2 separate regions of the Homo sapiens genome follow, and region 1 is linked to region 2. Evidence: promoter capture Hi-C in human tissues and cell types (Jung and others, 2019). All regions are on one chromosome and are shown on one strand. The core of a region is centred on a gene start or on the middle of the fragment in contact, and the rest is flanking DNA. Distances in the headings are between cores, read along the strand shown.

Region 1 (7,072 bases), core at 4,459-6,958, 770 kb before region 2:
TACTGCACCTGGGCAAAAATTGATTTTTTGGGGAAAGTATTTGAATGAATTTTGTTTAGTATTGTATTTATCCAATAAAGTATTTCAAGGCCAGGTGCAGTGGCTCACGCCTGTAATCCCAGAACTCTGGAAGGCTCAGGCGGGCGGATCACTTGAGGTCCGGATTTCTAGACCAGCCTGGCCAATATGGTGAAACCGTCTCTACAAAAAATACAAAAATTAGCTGGGCGTGATGGTGCATGCCTGTAATCCCAGTTAACTCGGGAGGCTAAGGCGGAGGTTGCAGTGTGCAAAGACCACACCACTGCACTCCAGCCTGGGCGACAGAGAGAGATTCCATCTCAAAAAAAAAAAAAGAGAATTTCATTAGTTTACAAAAATTAAAAACATAAGCATATTCTAAGCAAGTGTCTTAAAAAATTTTGAAGCAATGATTTCATTTTCTTTGTTTCTTCATCACAAAGGTAATATTTTTAATGTAGCATTGTAATTCCCAAAACAGGTTTTGGAACCACCCAGTCTTTGGTTCAAACCCCACTCATTTGCTATGGAAACTTATTTCACTTGATATTTGCTTCTATCTTCAGACCCTTGCACATGCAGTTCAATCGTCCTATACAAACTCTTCACCTTCATCTCTTCTTATCTAGGTCTTTGCTCACATCTCTGTCAGGAAGTCTTTTCTGATCTTCCCTAGGCTGTTGGATGTGGCTAAGTTGCTCCATTACATGCTTGAGGTAAACATTTGCATTCTTTTTGACTGCCCAGCATCTGAACCTTCATCTGTGTTTGGGGACTTTTCAACAAATGAAGCAGCATGCATGTCCCCCCACAGACACTGAAAATGCCAGATATTTGTTTTCCTACCTCCACAGCTGGGAGGAAGGTGAGATACAACCTAGACTGCACCAGTCAGTTCCATTCACAACAGACTTTGAATAAATAAGGATACAGTGAAATTAAGAAGCAGGGATAATCCATTGTAGTGAGGGGGCAGAAGTGGTAACACCCTGTTTCCAGAGGCAACAGTGTCAGGGATTTAGAACACAGCCTTGTGCCCAGCATAGCTGGTCTGGATGCCAAAAACCATGCAGTGTAGCCGAGAGAGAGCAGGAGTATTGTCATCACAGGACCAGCACCACGACTTTTTTTTTTTTTTTTTTTTTGAGACAGTCTCGCTCTTTCGCCCAGGCCGTAGTGCAGTGGCGTTATCTGGGCTCACTGCAAGCTCCACCTCCTGGGTTCAGGCCATTCTCCTGCCTCAGCCTCCTGAGTAGCTGAGACCACAGGCACCCGCCACTGCACCCAGCTAATTTTTTTTGTATTTTTAGCAGAGACGGGGTTTCACCGTGTTAGCCAGGATTGTCTCGATCTCCTGACCTCGTGATCCGCCCGCCTCGGCCTCCCAAAGTGCTGGGATTACAGGCGTGAGCCACCGCGCCCGGCCTCGCCACGACTTTTAAAGGCATTGTTCCCAACTTCTAAGCCTTGTTCTCTGGCCCTTCTGGAGTTTCATCAGCTATCACATACCATTGTAATAAATTTCCTTTCTGCATATGGTAAGCCCAAATTGACTTTTGCTGTTTGCTACTAAGAACCCTGTGTACCTGCTGCATCTGGAACCATCCCCAGACACCACACTTTTTGTAATGTAACTGCTTACTCCTCTGTTGCCACACTAGACTCTAAGTATTATTATGATTGGATCCTCAGTGCCCTGTAATCACCCAAGAAGACACTGATTGAATGAATGAATTAAACTTTCTGAGCTCTCATTTCCTCATGTATAAATTGGGAATAACAGTTACTTGGTTTTTTGGGTTTTTTCAGGCAGTTTCCCTCTGTCGCCCAGGCTGGAGTGCAGTGGCATGCTCTTGGCTCACTGGAATCTCCGCCTTCCCGGGTTCAAGCAATTCTCCTGTCTCGGCCTCCTGAGTAGCTGGGATTACAAGCACCCACCACCATGCCCAGCTAATTTTCTTGTATTTTTAGGAGAGATGCGGTTTCACGATGTTGGTCAAGCTGGTCTCGAACTCCTGACCTCAAGTGACTCAACTGCATCGGCCTCCCAAAGTGCTGGGATTACAGGCGTGAGCCACTATGCCCAGCCAAAATAGTAGTTCTAAAGAAAGATGGAGAATGTTTTTCTAACAGGAAATAAACTTGGACAACCTCCATCTCAATCATCTCATTTTACAGACAAGGAACTGAGGCCCCCAAAGAGTAAATGATTTGCCTAAGTTTGGTGGATAAGTTCAGAGCTGTTTTTTACTCCTAGGTCAGTACATTTTCTACACACCATGATGGCCATAAAATATTATAGGCATCAATGTTTGTATCCCCCGCCTCCACCTTCACATGTTGGAGCCCTAGCCCCTCAAGGTGATGGTATTAGGAGGCACGGCTTTTGGGATGTAGTTAGGTTTAGGCGAGATAATGAGGACAGGGTCCCTATGATGGAATTGGTGCCTCTAAAAGAGGAGGAAGAGACATCAGAGCTTCCTGAGAAGCCATCTGCAAGGCAAAAGAGGGCCCTCACCAAAACCCAACCACATCGGTACCCTGATCTCAAACTTCCAGCCTCTAGAACAGTGAGAAATACATGTATGTTTAAGTCACCTAGGCTATGGTATTTTGTTATAATGCCCAAGCTCAGACAAACATTTTATTCGATAATACTTTCACTTTAAACTTAAACTGGGCCAGGCACAGTGGCTCATGCCTGTAATCCCCGTGTGTCCAGAATTAGTGGGTTCTTGGTCTCACTGACTTCAAGAATGAAGCCGCGGACCATCGCAGTGAGTGTTACAGTTCTTAAAAGAGGGGCGTCCAGAGTTGGTTCCTTCTGATCTTCGGATGTGTTTGGAGTTTCTTCCTTCTGGTGGGTTCGTGGTCTCCCTGGCTCAGGAGGGAAGCTGCAAACCTTCGCAGTGAGTGTTATAGCTCATAAAGACAGCGTGGACCCAAAGAATGAGCAGCAGCAAGATTTACTGCAAAGAGCAAAAGGACAAAGCTTCCACAACGTGGAAGGCGACCCCAGTAGGTTGCCTCTGCTGGCTCGGGCAGCCTGCTTTTATTCCCTTATCGGCCCCACCCACATCCTGCTGATTGGCCCATTTTACAGAGAGCTGCCTGGTCTGTTTTACAGAGAGCTGACTGGTCCGTTTTGACAGGGTGGTGATTGGTACATTTACAATCGCTGAGCTAGACACAAAATTTCTCCAAGTCCCCACAGAGCACTGATTGGTGCATTTACAAACCTTGAGCTAGACACAGGGTGCTGATTAGTGTGTTTACAAACCTTGAGCTAGACACAGAGTGCTGACTGGTGTATTTACAATCCCTTAGCTAGACATAAAGATTCTCCAAGTCCCCACCAGATTAGCTAGATACAGAGTGCTGATTGGTGCATTTACAAACCTTGAGCTAGACACTGAGTGCTGATTGGTGTATTTACAATCCCTTAGCTAGACATAAAGGTTCTCCAAGTCCCCACTAGACTCAGGAGCCCAGCTGGCTTCACCTAGTGGATCCCACAGGGGAGCCGCAGCTGCCCACCAGTACTGCCCCGTCAGCCCCACACTCCTCAGCCCTTGGGCGGTGGATGGAACCCGGCTTGGCAGAGCAGGGGGCAGCGCTCGTGGGGGAGGCTTGCCCCGCAGGAGCCCACAGTGGGGCGGGGGGTGCGGCTCAGGCATGGCGGGCTGCAGGTCCTGAGCCCTGCCCCGTGGGGAGGCAGCTGAGGCCCAGCAAGAATTCCAGTGCAGCGCTGGCGGGCTGGCACTGCTGGTGGACCCGGGGCACCCTCCACAGCTGCTGGTCTGGGTGCTAAGCCCCTCACTGGCCAGGGCCGGCGGTGCCAGCCGGCGCTCAGAGTGCAGGGCCCGCCGAGCCCACACCCACCCGGAACTCCCGCTGGCCCGTGATCGCGGGGCACAGCAGCCCCGGTTCCCGCCCACGCCTCTCTCTCCACACCTCCCTGCAAGCAGAGGGAGCTGGCTCCGGCCTCAGCCAGCCCAGAGAGGGGCTCCCACAGTGCAGCAGCGGGCTGAAGGGCTCCTCAAACGCGGCCAGAGTGGATGCCCTGGCCTGAGGAGGTGCTGAGAGCGAGCGAGGGCTGCTAGCACGTTGTCACCTCTCACCAGCACTTTGGGAGGCCGAGGCGAGTGGATCAGGAGTTCCAGACCAGCCTGGTCAACATGGTGAAACCCTGTCTCTACTGAAAATACAAGATTAGCTGGGTGTGGTTGTGCATGCCTGTAATCCCAGGTACTCGGGAGGCTGAGGCAGGAGAATCACGTGAACCCGGGAGGTGGAGGTTGCAGTGACCCGAGATCTCGCCATTGCACTCCAGCCTGGGCAACAAGAGCAAAACTCTGTCTCAAAAAACAAAACAAAACAAAACAGAACAAACTTAAACTGAAATACGCATGCATTTATTGGTAGGTAGTGCAGAAGGCTGGTGCAGGGGTTATGAAGAATGCTATGAAGTTTCAAGTATGGCAACCAGCATATGCATTCACGTTTGCTATGTGTGCTCAGGTGTGAGAGCCAGAGCGTGAAAATTACTTCTGCTCACGGGGAGTCCAGTATATACACTATCTTGTCCTCTCGGGAACTCTATAAAGTAGAAATTGTTACGCTACAGATTATTAAAACAAGAAAAAAACAGGCTCAGTAAAGGTAATTGAATTATTTTGGGTGCTGCAGCCAACCACCAAGTTGCAATGACCAAATCGGAGCCAAATAAATTGCTCACTTCTGGTCCGTCTCATGTCCCCATCTAAATTACATCATTAATTTACAATCCTTTGGCATTTTTCATAATCTAGACAGCACTTTCCCTTCTTTCGTCTGTTTAAGTCTTGCCATTCTTCCTACCTCTCTGAGGAAGGAGTTCATAAGAGTAGGAATAGGCTATTAAATTCTAACCATTTCAGATAACCATAAGTATCCTGATTTATCATATTGCCATAAATAAGCCTAGGAGACCCTACTTCATAAATGGTTTCTTGTCTGTACATTAGGTAATCGGTGTGAATTTCCATAAGTCTCTAAATTCAAAGCATTAATGAACCACAAATAGGCTTTTAACAATTGAATCCCGGTTGCTATTCTTGACCTTTTCATTTATTTTCAGAGACCACTTCTCATTTAAGTGACACTTAGCAACTAAAAAGATTCACAGAGTGATTCAGAGTCGAGTATGATGTCCTCACTGTTGAATGCTCATAGAATATTTTTTCTCTTTCCATAGTCTTGAGGACCAACGCAAACGTCTAGAGGATGTGGGATTCTTACCTGCTAACATATCTTTGGCATTAACTCCCCAAATCTTTGAATGCAAGGCACGCTTACCTGACACCCTAAACTGCTAGTTTAGGGACACCCGCCGCAGAGCGGAATCGTTCAAGGTCACTGGGGCTGCAGGTGCGGGGCCTTAACCAGCGCTGCCGATCCGTCAGCTCTCGGCCCACCCTTGGGGATCCCCATCGCCCACTGCGACCTAGCTGGGAGAACCCAGTCCGCCCGCCCTCCCGGTGGCCGGTCTTGGAACCGCGCTTCTGGAAGGTTCCTGAGTGGCTGGCAGTGGGGGCGGCTCCAGGAAGCCGGGGCGGAGCGGGCGGCGTTGGAGTCTCGGGCTACGCCTCCCTGGGCCGCTCCGCCCCGCCCGTTGTCGGAAGCCGCGCTCCGCCAGGCAGGAGACACTGTGGTCGGGAGTAGGCAGCGGCGCCGCGTCCGCTCTCGCCCGCTCTCGCCCGCTCGCCAGCCGGCTCTCCTCCCGCCGCAGGACCCGCGCGCCGCGCTCGGGGGCCATGCAGCGCCTGGCCATGGACCTGCGGATGTTGTCCCGGGAGCTCTCCCTCTACCTGGAACACCAAGTCCGGGTGGGGTTCTTCGGCTCGGGGGTGGGCTTATCCCTTATCCTGGGCTTCAGCGTCGCTTATGCCTTCTACTACCTGAGCAGCATTGCCAAGGTGAGCCGGGGGTGGCGCAGGGCCGCGGGCTGCTGGGCCAGGAGCTAGGGTAGCAGGCGCGGCGCGAGGCTGCGCGGCCAGGGGCGGTCGGCAGCCCCGGGGATAGGCGGCGAGCTGCTCCCGAGCGGCAGCCCCCAGCGCGCGCGGGAAAGCCAACAGGCCCCGCCCGTTCGCCCGCCCCCTGGGGGTCCCGGCCGGGTGGTCCTCGGAGCGCAGCCTGAACCCGGCTGACTTCTGCGCTGCGGCGCTGCCCGGTCACCGATCGCGAAGCCGGCGGCGCACTCGGGAACGCCGTGGCGCTTTTGAAAATGACTCCGGGCAGGGCACGGTGGCTCACGCCTGTAATCTCAGCACTTTGGGAGCCCGAGGCGGGTGGATCACCTGAGGTCAAGAGTTCGAGACCAGCCTGACCAAAATGGTGAAACCCCGTTACAATTACAAAAAATTAGCCGGGCGTGGTGGCGGACGCCTGCAATCCCAGCTACTCGGGAGGCTGAGGCAGGAGAATCCCCTGAACCCGGGAGGCGGAGTTAAAAACAAACAAACTCCCTTATCGCGATTCTCGCCTTCCCCTCGGGGCATTGGCGAAACCCCCGTTTCAGTCCTCTGTGACTGTGAATTTTTTGCGTCAGCCCTCCAGAAAGAGTTGTAATCGGAGGAAGCGCGCGCGCGAGCGACAAGTCTTTGCCGGTTTCTGGTTTACGGTTGGCAGAAACTTTGCTCTGGGCCCTTCTCTGATACTGCTTTTCCCTTCAGAAACCCCAGTTAGTGACCGGGGGTGAGAGTTTCAGCCGCTTCCTTCAAGACCACTGTCCCGTGGTTACAGAAACGTACTACCCGACGGTCTGGTGCTGGGAGGGTCGAGGACAGACCCTGCTTAGACCTTTCATCACTTCGAAGCCCCCGGTGCAGTACAGGAAGTAAGTGAATTTCCGTTTTCAGTCATTTCTGCAAAATCACAGGTTGTTTGTTTGCTTGCTTGCTTATTCCCAGTTCTTGGTTAATAGAATCTGCTTTAGGAAGTATATAGAACAGAAAGAGGGAATGAAAATGGAAGGTACGTCCCCGGCTCCACCCCCAGCTGCAGGAAAATA
Region 2 (7,349 bases), core at 3,353-5,852:
TCCCACACATGTGGGAATTCAATACGAGATTTGGGTGGGGACACAGCCAAATCACATCAGATGGGGTCTCACTCTCTTGCCCAGGCTGGAGTGCAGTGGTGCAATCTCGGTTCATTGCAAGCTCTGCCTCCTGGGCTCAAGTGATCCTCCCACCTCAGTCTCCCTAGTAGCTGGGACCACAAGCACATGCCACCATGCCCAGCTAATTTTTTGTATTTTTGGTAGAGATGGGGTCTTGCCATGTTGCCCAGGCTGGTCTTGAACTACTGAGCTCAAGCAATCTGCCCATCTTGGCCTCCAAAAGTGCTGGGGTTGCAAGAAAATAGTTGCTAATTTAAAAACTGGAATACTTCAAATACAAATCTGATTTCCAATAACTGTTTCTCAACAAAGGGCCAGAGGCCTGCACATCAGCAATATCCTCTCACTGTTTTCTGAGAGAGGATATGTTTTCTATTTCACACAGTCCTTACCTGGACCACTTATTTGTGTTATCTGTCTGATGTTTAAGATCACCTGAATTTTCAGTGCTGCCAAAAAAGGTAACAATTGGCATATGATACATACAAATATAAAACATTCCCTTTCATAGAGCAGGTTTGAAACACTCTTTCTGTAGTATCTGGAAGTGGACATTTCGAGCGCTTTCAGGCCTATGGTGGAAAAGGAAATATCTTCCCATAAAAACTACACAGAAGCATTCGCAGAAACTTGTTTCTGATGTGTGTCCTCAACTAACGGAGTTGAACATTTCGTTTGACAGAGCAGTTTGGAAACACGCTTTCTGTAGAATCTGCAAGTGGATATTTGGATAGCTTTGTGGATTTCATTGGAAACGGGAGTATCTTCATATAAAATCTAGACAGAAACATTCTCAGAAACTGCTTTGTGATGTCTGCATTCAAGTCACAGAGTTGAACATTCCCTTTCATCGAGCAGGTTTGAAACACTCTTTTTGTAGTATCTGAATGTGGACATTTGGAGCGCTTTGATGCCTACAGTGAAAAAGGAAATATCTTCCCACAAAAACTAGACAGAAGCATTCTCAGAAACTTGTTTGTGATGTGTGTCCTCAACTAACAGAGTTGAACCATTCTTTTTACAGAGCAGTTTTGAAACACTCTTTTTGTAGAATCTACAGGTGGATATTGGGATAGCTTTAAGGATTTCATTGGAAACGGGAAAATCTTCATATAAAATCTAGACAGAAGCATTCTCAGAAACTTCTTTGTAATGTGTGTCCTCAACTAACAAAGTTCAACCTTTCTTTTGATACAGCAGTTTGGAAACACTCTTTTTGTAGAATCTGCAAGTGGATATTTGGATAGCTCTAACGATTTCATTGGAAATGAGAATATCTTCATATAAAATCTAGACAGAAGCACTCTCAGAAACTACTTTGTGATATCGGCATTCAAGTCACAGAGTTGAACATTCCCTTTCATGGAGCAGGTTTGAAACATTCTTTTTGTAGTATCTGGAAGTGGACATTTGGAGCGCTTTGACGACTTTGGTGAAAAAGGAAATATCTTCCCATAAAAACGAGACAGAAGCATTCTCAGAAACTTGTTTGTGATGTGTGTACTCAACTAACAGAGTTGAACCTTTCTTTTTACAGAGCAGTTTTGAAACACTCTTTTTGTAGAATCTGCAAGTGGATATTTGCATGGCTTTAAGGATGGCATTGGAAACGGGAATATCTTCATGTAAAATCTACACAGAAGCATTCTTAGAAACTTATTTGTGATGTGTGTCCTCAACTAACAGAGTTGAAACTTTCTATTGATAGAGGAGTTTTGAAACACTCTTTTTGTGGAATCTGCAAGTGGATATTTGGATTGCTTTGAGGATTTCGTTGAAAGCGCGCATTCATATAAAAAGTGGACAGCAGCATTCTCAGAAATTTCGTTCTGATGTTTGCATTCAACTCATAGAGTTGAACATTCCCTTTCATAGAGAAGGTTTGAAACACTCTTTTTGTAGTATGTGGAAGTGGACATTTCGAGCGCTTTGACGCCTATGGTGAAAAAGGAAATATCTTCCCATAAAAAATAGACAGAAGCATTCTCAGAAACTTGTCTGTGATGTGTGTACTCAGCTAACAGAGTTGAAGCTTTCTTTTCACAGAGCAGTTTTGAAACACTCTTTTTGTAGAATCTGCAAGTGGATATTTGGATAGATTTTAGGATTTCGTTGGAAACGGGAGTATCTTCGTATATAATCTCGACAGAAGCATTCTCAGAAACTGCTTTGTGATGTCTGCCTTCAAGTCACAGAATTGAACATTCTCTTTCATAGAGCAGGTTTGAAACACTCTTTTTGTAGTATCTGGAAGTGGACGTTTGAAGCACTTTGAGGCCCATGGTGAAAAAGGAAATATCTTCCCATAAAAACTAGACAGAAGCATTCTCAGAAACTTCTTTGTGATGTTTGTACTCAACTAACAGAATTGAACCTTTCTTTTGACAGAGCAGTTTTGAAACACTCTTTTTGCGGAATCTGCAAGTGGATATTTGGATAGCTTAGAGGATTTCGTTGGAAACGGGAATATATACATATAAAATCTAGACAGAAGCATTCTCAGAAACTTCTTTGTGATCTTTTCATTCAACTCGTAGAGTTGAACATTCCCTTTCATAGAGCCGGTTTGAAACACTCTTCTTGTACTACCGGGAAGTGGACATTTGGAGCGCTCTGATGCCTATGCTGAAAAAGGAAATATCTTCCTATAAAAACTACACAGAAGGATTCTCAGAAACATGTTTGTGATGTGTGTACTCAGCTAACAGAGTGGAACCTTTCTTTTTACAGAGCAGCTTTGATACACTATTTTTGTAGAATCTGCAAGTTGATATTTGGATATTCCCGTTTCCAATGAAATCCTTAAAGCTATCCCAATATCCACCTGCAGATTCTACAAAAAGAGTGTTTCAAAACTGCTCTGTAAAAAGAATTGTTCAACTCTGTTAGTTGAGGACATACATCACAAACAAGTTTCTGAGAATGCTTCTGTCTACTTTTTATGGGAAGATATTTCCTTTTTCACTGTAGGCGTCAAAGCGCTCAAAATGTCCACATCCAGATACTACAAAAAGAGTGTTTCAAACCGGCTAGATGAAAGGGAATGTTCAACTCTGTGACTTGAATGCAGACATCAAAAAGCAGTTTCTGAGAATGCTTCTGTCTAGATTTTATATGAAGATATTCCCGTTTCCAACGAAATCTTCGAAGTTATCCAAATATCCACTTGCAAATTCTACAAAAAGAGTGTTTCCAAACTGCTGTATCAAAAGAAAGGTACAGCTCTGTTAGTTGAGGACACACATCACAAATAAGTTTCTGAGAATGCTTCTGTCTACTTTTTATGGAAAGATATTTCCTTTTTCAACATAGGCCAGAAAGCGCTCAAAATGTCCACTTCCAGATACTACAGAAAGAGTGTTTCAAACCTGCTTTATGAAAGGGAATGTTCAAACCTGTGACTTAAAAGCAAACATCACAAAGAAGCTTCTGAGAATGTTGCTGTCTACTTTTTATATATAATCCCGTTTCCAACGAAATCCTCAAAGCCATCCAAATATCCACTTGCAGATTCCACAAAAAGAGCGTTTCAAAACTGATCTATAAATAGAAAGGTTCAACTCTGTTAGTTGAGTACATATATCCCAAAGAAGTTTCTTAGAATGCTTCTGTCTAGTTTTTATGGGAAGACATTTCCTTTTTCACCAAAGGCGTCAAAGCGCTCCAAATGTCCACTTCCAGATACTACAAAAAGAGTGTTTCAAACCTGCTCTAAGAAAGGGAACGTTCAACTCTGAGACTTGAATGCAGATATCACAAAGTCGTTTCCGAGAGTGCTTCTGTCTAGATTTTATATGAAGATATTCCTGTTTCCAACGATATCTTTAAAGCAATCAAAATATCAAATTGCAGATTCTACAAAAATAGTGTATCAAAGCTGCTCTGTAAAAAGAAAGGTTCCACTCTCTTAGCTGAGTACATACATCACAAACATGTTTCTGAGAATCCTTCTGTCTAGTTTTTATGGGAAGATATTTCCATTTTCACCATAGGCGTCAGAGCGCTCCAAATGTCCACTTCCCGATACTACAAGAAGAGTGTTTCAAACTGGCTCTATGAAAGGGAATGTTCAACTCTACGAGTTGAATGAAAAGATCACAAAGAAGTTTCTGAGAATGCTTCTGTCTAGATTTCATATGAATATATTCCCATTTCCCAGGAAATCCTCTAAGCTATCCAAATATCCACTTGCAGATCCTACAAAAAGAGTGTTTCAAAACTGCTCTGTCAAAAGAAAGGTTCAACTCTGTTAGTTGAGGACACACATCACAAAGAAGTTTCTGAGAATGCTTCTGTGTAGGTTTTACATGAAGATATTGCCATTTCCAACGAAATCCTTAAAGCCATTCAAATATGCACTTGCAGATTCTACAAAAAGAGTGTTTCAAAACGGCTCTGTAAAAAGAAAGGTTCAACTCTGTTAGTTGAGTACACAAATCACAAACAAGTTTCTGAGAATGCTTCTGTCTCGTTTTTATGGGAAGATATTTCCTTTTTCACCAAAATCATTAAAGGGCTCCAAAGGTCCACTTCCAGATACTACAAAAAGAGTGTTTCAAACCTGCTCCATGAAAGGGAATGTTCAACTCTGTGACTTGAATGCCGATATCACAAAGTAGTTTCTGAGAGTGCTTCTGTCTAGATTTTTTATGAAGATATTCCCGTTTCCAACGAAATCGTTAGAGCTATCCAAATATCCACTTGCAGATTCTACAAAAAGAGTGTTTCCAAACTGCTGTATCAAAAGACAGGATGTACTCCGTTGGTTGAGGACACACATCACAAAGAAGTTTCTGAGAATGCCTCTGTCTAGATTTTATATGAAGATATTCCCGTTTCCAATGAAATCCTTAAAGCTCTCCAAATATCCACTTGCAGATTCTCCAAAAAGAGTCTTTCAAAAGTGCTCTGTAAATAGAAAGTTTCAACTCTGTTAGTTGAGGACAAACATCACAATCCAGTTTGTGAGAATGCTTCTGTCTAGTTTTTATGGGAAGATATTTCCTTTTGCACCGTAAGCGTCAAAGCGCTCCAAGTGTCCACATCCAGATACTACGGAAAGAGGGTTTCAAACCTGCTCTATGAAAGGGAATGATCAACTCTGTGACGTGAATGCAGACATCATAAAGCAGTTTCTGAGAATGTTTCTGTCTAGGTTTTCTATGTTGATACTCCCGTTTCCAACGAAATAGTGAGAGCTATCCAACTATCCACTTACATATTCTACAAAAAGAGTGTTTCCAAACTGCTGTATCATAAGAAAGGATGAACTCTGTTAGTTGAGGACACACATCACAAAGAAATTTCTGAGAATGCTTCTGTCTAGTTTTTATGGGAAGATATTTCCGTTTTCAACATAGGCCTGAAATCGCTCGAAATGTCCATGTCCACATACTACAGAAATAGTGTTTCAAACCTGCTCTATGAAAGGGAATGATCAACTCTGTGACGTGAATGCAGACATCATAAAGCAGTTTCTGAGAATTTTTCTGTCTAGGTTTTCTATGTTGATACTCCCGTTTCCAATGAAATAATGAGAGCTATCCAACTATCCACTTACATATTCTACAAAAAGAGTGTTTCAAAACTGCTGTATCATAAGAAAGGATGAACTCTGTTAGTTGAGGACACACATCACAAAGAAATTTCTGAGAATGCTTCTGTCTAGTATTTATGGGAAGATATTTCCGTTTTCAACATAGGCCTGAAATCGCTCGAAATGTCCATGTCCAGATACTACAGAAATAGTGTTTCAAACCTGCTCTATGTAAGGGAATATTCAACTCTGTGACTTAAAAGCAAACATCACAAAGAAGGTTCTGAGAATGCTGCTGTCTACTTTTTATATGTAATCCCGTTTCCAAGGAAATCCTCAGAGCTATCCTAATATCCACTTGCAGATTCCACAACAAGAGCTTCTCAAAACTGACCTATAAATAGAAAGGTTCAACTCTGTTAGTTGAGTACATATATCCCAAAGAAGTTTCTTAGAATGCTTCTGTCTAGTTTTTATGGGAAAACATTTCCTTTTTCACCAAAGGCGTCAAAGCGCTAAAAATGTCCACTTCCAGATACTACAAAGTGTCTCAAACCTGCTCTAAGAAAGGGAATGTTCAACTCTGTGACTTGAGTGCAGATATCACAAAGCAGTTTCTGAGAGTGCCTCTGTCTAGATTTTATATGAAGGTATTCCCATTTCCTATGAAATCGTTAGAGCTATCCAAATATCCACTTGCATATTCTACAAAAGGAGTGTTTCGAAACTGCTGTATCAAAAGAAAGGTTGAACTCTGTTAGTTAAGGACACACATCACAAAGAAGTTTCTGAGAATGCTTCTGTGTAGATTTTACATGAATATAGTCCCGTTTCCAAGGAAATCCTTAAAGCCATCCAATTATCCACTTGCAGATTTTACAAAAAGAGTGTTTCAAAACTGCTGTGTAAAAAGAAACGTTCAACTCTGTCAGTTGAGTACACACATCACAAACAAGTTTCTGAGAATGCTTCTGTCTAGTTTTTATGGGAAGATATTTCCTTTTTCTCCAAAGTCGGCAAAGCGCTCCAAAGATCCATTTCCAGATACAACAAAAAGAGTGTTTCAAACCAGCTCTATGAAAGGGAATGTTCAACTCTGTGACTTGAATGCAGATATCACAAAGTACCTCCTGAGAGTGCTTCTGTCTAGATTTTATATGAAGATATTCCCGTTTCCAAGGAAATCGTCAGAGCTATCCAAATATCCACTTGCAGATTCTGCAAAAAGAGTGTTTCCAAACTGCTGTATCCAAAGACAGGTTGTACTCTGTTAGGTGGGGACACATATCACAAAGAAGTTTCTGAGAATGACTTTTCCGTTTCCAATGAAATCTACTTAAAGGTATCCAAATATCCGCTTGCAGATTCTACAAAAAGAGTCTTTCAAAACTGCCCTGTAAATAGAAAGGTTCAACTCTGTTAGTGGAGGACATACATCACAAAGCAGTTTGTGAGAAGGCTTCTGTCTAGTTTTTAAGGGAAGATATTTCCTATGTCACCGTACGCGTCAAAGCGCTCAAATGTCCACATCCAGATACTACAGAAACGGTGTTACAAACGTGCTCGATGAAAGAGAATGTTCAATTCTGTGACTTGAATGCAGACATCACAAAGCAGTTTCTGAGAGTGCCTCTGTCTAGATTGTATATGAAGATATTCCCGTTTCCAACGAAATCTTCAAAGTTATCGAAATATCCGCTTGCAGATACTACAAAAAGAGTGTTTCTAAACT

Evidence for each region. Contacts are between HindIII fragments. The study calls those that stand out against the background at their distance.
Region 1: a contact is called between the fragment with the promoter of ABHD3 here and a fragment that was not itself captured in region 2, in 5 of the 25 tissues and cell types used here (bladder, dorsolateral prefrontal cortex, heart right ventricle and 2 more).

Annotation. Positions count from the first base shown.
Region 1 is chr18:21,703,410-21,710,481 of GRCh38, reverse strand. It overlaps ABHD3 (abhydrolase domain containing 3, phospholipase), which reads left to right and starts at 5,708. Exons shown (of 9, transcript NM_138340.5): 1 at 5,708-5,978; 2 at 6,735-6,898. The coding sequence starts at 5,817. It also overlaps a transcript of MIB1 not described here. RefSeq lists silencers at 3,027-3,227, 5,541-6,310 and enhancers at 5,301-5,370, 6,831-6,980. The HindIII fragment of the contact is 17,143 bases long and covers 1-7,072 here.
Region 2 is chr18:20,933,608-20,940,956 of GRCh38, reverse strand. No RefSeq gene overlaps it. Among named protein-coding and RNA genes, the nearest start is that of ROCK1, 170 kb to the left of the region's middle. RefSeq lists enhancers at 2,986-3,591, 3,592-4,199, 4,200-4,807, 4,808-5,415, 5,416-6,021 and 7 more. The HindIII fragment of the contact is 3,583 bases long and covers 2,811-6,393 here.